Regions from separate parts of the Homo sapiens genome. Here region 1 is linked to region 2. Evidence: promoter capture Hi-C in 16 types of primary human blood cells and fetal thymus (Javierre and others, 2016). All regions are on one chromosome and are shown on one strand. Each heading gives the region's core, a stretch centred on a gene start or on the middle of the fragment in contact. The rest is flanking DNA. Distances are from core to core; before and after follow the strand shown.

Region 1 (3,332 bases), core at 709-3,208, 2.4 Mb after region 2:
AAATGCATCATTGGTGTTTCATAAGTTGCATTTAATATGTTGGATGTCAATGTTTAGTTTTCTTTAAAAGTGTTACATGCCAGGGCAGATGTATTGTACATTCTATGATACAGGTTATCATTTGCCCATTCATGTATGTAATGATATGTTTTATGTCTACTGTCTACATTACTAAGGTCTGGGTGGGGAAGTGATTTCTATAAAAAGACAGAAGCATTATCCGTGACCTCAAGCAGTTCTCAGAAAAAGGAAATGTGGAAAATAAGTACCCATAAAGCATAAGGCAGAATATGCTGTGTTCCACAGCCTCACACAGATGCTGTACTAATAATACATTGATGCTATTGTTTATCAATATGTTTCCACTCAGGCCCATCATTGCATTTACATGGAATTAGGATTTTTTCTCCTACCCTTCACTCATGATTCCCTAAAGTTTATCATGTTATAATGGGCTTATTTCTTGTAGGTGTTTTCATAGTTACTCATGCTTATTCCTATGATTCATACTTTAATTATACCTGCTAGTCAGGCTTTCTCTTATGCCACATTAACACAGCTACTTGAGAAAAACCAGAAATGCTTTTGCTTTGAGGTGGGTTTACTGTCGGTTTTGAACTGTTGTTTCCATGCATGATTCTCTCCATCATAATTAACTGAACCAGATTCTTTCCTAGAGAATAGACTTTCTATATAAAAGATCAGCAATACCTGCAAGCCTGTTTTCATAAACAAATGTAATGGATTGAAATATAGCCTGTCCAGAAATTTCCACTTCATAACACATGACACCGTAAGCTGCGTGGTAAGCTTCGCAAATATTATTGGCTGACAGGCTCTTTGGCACAGAGAAATGTCTCTTTGTTTTCCTGATTCTGGAATGGGATATGTGGGCTTTGTTTACTTGCTTTTGAGAGCAAATAGATAGTAGAGGATAGTAAACTAATATGGCATTTGTAAATCTGCCTAAAACTGTTTCTTGACGTAGATCATGTCTGACACTTAAGCCTGGCACTTCGTATGTACTCAGTAAGTGTTATTGTCAAGCTATTATTACTTTTCAATTAATTATGTAGATTTAGACCACCCAGACTCAGCTGATCTGAGGTTAAGTTCAAGCCTGGTAAGAGATGACTAAACAGAAACCAAGTGTTTCTTCTTGGTTTCCCCTCCTCCCAGCTCCTGGTAACCATTGTACTTTCTGTCTCTATGAATTTGACAATGTAGGTATCTCATATAAATGAAATTATACAATATTTGCACAATGTGTCTGTCTTATTTCACTTAGATGATTCAGTCATCAAAAAGAGAAGCAAAGAAGAAATAAGAATTAGATATACATTTAAAACCCATATGAGGAGCCAGGCCTGGTAGCTCAGCCTGTAATCTCAGCACTTTAGGAGGCCCAGGTGGGCATTTCACCTGGAGTTCGAGACCAGCCTGGCCAACATGATTAAACCCCATCTCTACTAAAAATAGAAAAATTAGCTGGGTGTGGTGGTGTGCACCTGTAATCCCAGCAGGTACTAGGGAGGCTGAGGCACGAGAATTGTTTGAAGCCAGGAGGCAGAGGTTGCAGTGAGCCAAGGTTGTGCCACTGCACTCCAGCCTGGGCAATGGAACGAGACTCTGTCATCTTAAACAGATAAAAATTTTAAAAAACCCAAAACAAATAAACAAAAAGAAACAAGCATTTGAACCTACTTAATTTTTGACTTAATTTTCTAAAATACTCTTCTGACAGCCAAAAAATGAAGTTCAGATTAAGCCCTTAGAGGGCGAGATCTTTTTATTCTGCCTTATTAGAAGTATTATTATTGTCACACACAATGCTCTTAACATCACTATTTCTCAAAAAATTAGTTGGTGTATGACACTGCATTTCTGATGGGCAAATGTACACATCATTAGTGACAGGAGCCTATGTGACTTAGTAACATTGTCTTTTCCAGTTTAAAAAAAATGCTCTCACAAATTGTAGAGCCCCTCTCAAATGCATACAGCTCTCCCTGCTTCCTCTCCATGGTTGTCATGAAGCACAGACAAATGCTAAATGTAGTCCGGGTTGAAAAAGAAACTTCGCTTTGTCTGGGGGTAGGAAATGGGAGTCTCTCACAGGAAGAGTACAGAACATAGCCCACATTGTATGAGTCTATGGATTCCAAGAGCTCATTATCCAATAGATGGACTAAAGAGCAATGGTTGGAAGACCAAAAAGTCAAATGACTGAGAGATGAGAAAAGAGAATTTAGACGGGGTAAGTACACATGAGATTGGGCAACAGATGGGCAGTAAGCAGATTAAATAAAGGAAGGAAATATAGTGTGATTTTTGTGGATGAGGTAGAATCCAACATAACTCTGAGATTTAAGCCTATACAACTCAGAAGTGTTATTTTTTTTAGAAGAAATATACATTTTAGGTTGAGTCTCCTATGCTGAGTTTGAGGTAAAGTTAGAATAATTAAGAGGCACTTTCTCAGAAAGAAAAGTGCAGCACAAACACTCAGGGCTGTTGTGTTAGCTTAACGGAGGGGGACACAGAAGCAGAAGTCAAGGTCAACTAGAGGGGAAGAATAGCTGCAGAGAGTGGAATTTGTTCTATGTGACAATATGACTCCTTTTTTCTAAGAGATGGTGTCTGGCTATGTTGCCCAGGCTGGTCTTGAACTCCTAAACTCAAGCAATCCTCCCACCTCAGCCTCCCAAAGTGCTAGGATTACAGGTGTGAGCCACTGCACAATATAACTTCTAAAGTCCCTGCCAAATCTAGATTTTATTATGATGACAGATTTCGGATGAATGGGTTGAAGGAAAAGAACAGAAGTCTAAGCAAGAAATACTCAACAACTAACTACATTTATGAGGGGTGGGGAGAAGGAAAAAGGAGAGGGAGAGAGGTAATCACTTAATTTAGGAAAAGACATTTTTTAGCACAGATTTTGATTTCAATTTAGTATTGCCCTCTTGTGGCAAATCATGATGTTTGCTAACTCTGACAGAAAACTTCATAAAGAGCACAGGAAAAGGAGACAAAATGAAAAGAAGCAGCCTCCACCAATACTGGGCATGATAGTTTTTGCATGTATTGCCCCATCTAAGCTTATCCACAAGCATGTGAAATAGGTATTAAATCTGATTAGCCCCACTTTTAAAGTTTTATTTATTTCTTTATTTTGAGATGGAGTTTCGCTCTTGTACCATAGGCCGGAGTGCAATGGCGCCATCTCGGTTCACTGCAACCTCCGCCTCCCAGGTTCAAATGATTCTTCTGCCTCAGCCTCCCGAGTAGCTGGGATTACAGGCACGTGCCACCATGCCTGGCTAATTTTT
Region 2 (3,140 bases), core at 583-3,082:
CATCATGCCTGGCAAAGTGCCTTGCATGTACTGAGTTCAAAGTAAATGTTTATTAAATACAATCGAATTAAACCTAAGAATAAAGATAGTGAATAGGGTGAATGATTCAATCATCCTATAAAAATGCACTGAAGCCAGGCACGGTGGCACACACCTGTAATCCCAGCACTTTGGGAGGCCAAGGCGGGTGGATCACCTGAGGTCAGGAGTTCGAGACCAGCCTGACCAACATGGTGAAACCCCATTTCTACTAATTGCAAAAAATTAGCTGGGTGTGGTGGCACATGCCCTGTAATCCCAGCTACTTGGGAGGCTGTGGCAGGAGAATCGCTTGAACCCGGGAGGCAGAGGTTGCAGTGAGCCAAGATTGTGCCATTGCACTCCAGCCTGGGTAATACGAGCGAAACTGCGAACTGCGTCTAAAAAAAAAAAAAAAGGCACTGAATGTTTTTGCTGAGTGTCAAAAACTCTGCTAGACCTAGGGATAAGGGTGAACACCAAAGGAAGAGGTTTAAAATATGTCTTTGTTTTATTAACTTAAATCTATTTACTGAGTCCCCTTTAATGTGTCAGGCAATTTTCTTCTGTGTTTTTCTTTTAGGCTTATATATATAAGCCCTGATTGCAAATGCAACCCATTTTTTAAGCAATCCTGCCAGTGGAGGGAGCAGTGCAATTAATAAATCAGTATATCACATGATGTACACCAAAAAAGAATTCAAACTTTATTTTGAAATATATCATTTCACAAAAATTTAAATTCCTAACTAATCTTTCCCTTGGGCAATGTTAAAATCAGAGCCTGATCCAAAAAAGATAGACTAGAATTTGCCTTCCCCCCAAAAAAAAAACTCAAAAAGGGGAGAGAAAAAAATAAAAATAACTAAGTAAATGTTTTCTTTTTAGTTATAACGTATCTGCAGTCTTTCTTAAAAAGTAGAATATAGGCCGGGCGCGGTGGCTCATGCTTGCAATCCCAGCACTTTGGGAGGCCGGATCACTTGAGGTCAGGAGATGGAGACCCACATGGCCAACGTGGTGAAACCCCCGTCTCTACTGAAAATACAAAAATTAGCCAGGCGTGGCGGCGCGCGCCTGCTACTCGGGAGGCTGAGGCACGAGAATCGCTTGAACTCAGGAGGTGGAGGACGCAGTGAGCAGAGATCGCGCCACTACACTCCATCCAGCCTAAGCGACAGAACGAAACTCCGTATAAAAATTTAAAATAAAACACAATCTAATTGCTTCTATTCAGATGTATGGAAGGGAAACATGCTTCGGTCAGGTAGGATGCAAAGCTTGGAAACTACCTGCTTAAGCACGAGGCCAACGCATCTAAGCCAATAATGCAGGAGAAGTGGAGACAGCCTTGGGTTCCTGAAAAGGATCTGGTTGGTAAAGCTAAAGAGTGTGACCCGACGTCCCTCTGGCTGGGCCTGGGGACTTGAAGAGTGGTCAGGGGTCAGGCAGGAGTGCAAGGAACCGTACCGTGTTGGAAAAGGAGATTCCTGCGTCGGATCGCTGCACCCTGAGGAGCATCTGGTTGCCGTCATCCAAGAAGTTGTTGATTTCAAGACAGTTGCACAACAGTGGCTGATCCCAGAGTTCAGACATCAACCCGAAGTAATTCTGGGTAGTAGTGAAGATGAAGAGCTTCCGAACGTCCGCAGTCCCGTTCGCCATGATTGGAAGGGGTGGAGGGAAGTTGGGGGAAGGGGGAAGGAAGAAGAAACCAGTCCGGAGGGAAGTGAAGGGAAGAGAGGAGCTTTGCTCAAACCCGTAGCCCGACCGCGGGACCGCAGAGCTTCGCGGTTGCCAGGGGTAGTCGCTATGGCGACGGAGCACTACGGCGGCGTCGCTGGCGGCGCGCGGTGGGCGTTGCCCTCTCGGGGCACGCGCACGCAAAGCTCGCGGAGGCTATCGACCGCCTCGGAGCTCTTCAGCGGCTCCCTGCGGTCATCGATTGTAAGGGGTTCGGACAAGTTTATGTTGGCTCTCAAACATGTCTTTTATTCTTCTTACTGATTTCTTATCACGCATAATCAGAAGAGAGACATCTAGCCTTCAAGTACAGCAGCGTGATCTAGATTTAGGAGAGCTGGGTTCCAGTGCTCGCTCTCCACGTGCACCTGGTAGCAAACCAGTCTGTCAGCGTCAAGGTACACATCTGTTAAGAAGGGGAAATACTATCTCACAACCAGGGGTGTAGTGCGGATTGTAAAAGATTACTATTTAAAAATCGCTTTTTAGAGAAGCTTATAAAGACTAGGAATTCAATACAATGTTAATTTACTTTCTCAGTCGCCCTCTGCTCCTTTCTGTGCTGCTGCATTTCCCAACATCGTTTTTTCTATTATTAATTTTAGAATAATTTAACCAGCAATTTTTTATTGCAATCATTACCCGAGCACAACCATATTTGTAAAATAGCTAAAATGTAAAATGATACTTTTTAGTTTATTTTATAACAACCGCAACCAAATTCTGTGAAAATACAGATATGAAAACGGTCTTTGTCATTTTCTACTTCATGGCATTACTATAAACTACTAAATTGCTGGTCATTCATCCGAACATTCGTCAAACACTTTCTCAATTCAGTAATTCTCTTCTAAAAATATTTACTACATGCTATTAGGTTGGTGCAAACGTAATTGCGGTTTTTTGGCAAGAACTGTAATTACTTTTGCACCAATCTAACACAATTTGCCAAGTACCGAACTAGGCCCTGGGGACACAGTTCCTGCCCTCAGGAAGTTTTTGCTGTAGTCATTCATCACCTCAGCACTGGTTTGACCCAAGATCCTAGGGTACACAAACATATGCAGATTTTTTTTGTTTGCACTTAATAATCATAACCTCCCCTTAAAACTATACTATTTGAGAATTGGAAGGAGAGAGTCCTTTTATTTGCTGAGCAACTTAAGATTTTGGAGTGGGAACTTAAAAAAGCTGAACTGCTCTAAATTATAAAAGGAAATGAATGTAAATTCTCATGAAATATCCAAACAGTGAGAGATGGGAGTCTGGCCACTGGATGGGAAAACATCCAAACAGTGAGGTGGGATGCTGACCACTGGGTGAGGGAAAAAATCCTAACAGGAACCCAAGATGACTGTGTAGCTAATAAAAAGATTTTG

The links. The method cuts DNA at HindIII sites, captures the fragments that hold promoters and counts their contacts. A CHiCAGO score of 5 or more calls a contact.
Region 1: a fragment that was not itself captured here is called in contact with the fragment with the promoter of DYNC2H1 in region 2 in 1 of 17 cell types (total B cells); the score reaches 5.1 in total B cells.

Annotation. Positions count from the first base shown.
Region 1 is chr11:100,682,091-100,685,422 of GRCh38, reverse strand. ARHGAP42-AS1 (ARHGAP42 antisense RNA 1) reads left to right here. Exons shown (of 2, transcript NR_133571.1): 2 at 1-1,262. Among named protein-coding and RNA genes, the nearest start is that of ARHGAP42, 3.5 kb to the left of the region's middle. The HindIII fragment of the contact is 2,291 bases long and covers 813-3,103 here.
Region 2 is chr11:103,108,118-103,111,257 of GRCh38, reverse strand. It overlaps DYNC2H1 (dynein cytoplasmic 2 heavy chain 1), which reads right to left and starts at 1,832. Exons shown (of 89, transcript NM_001377.3): 1 at 1,489-1,832. The coding sequence starts at 1,683. RefSeq lists enhancers at 2,000-2,049, 2,120-2,239. The HindIII fragment of the contact is 957 bases long and covers 1,301-2,257 here.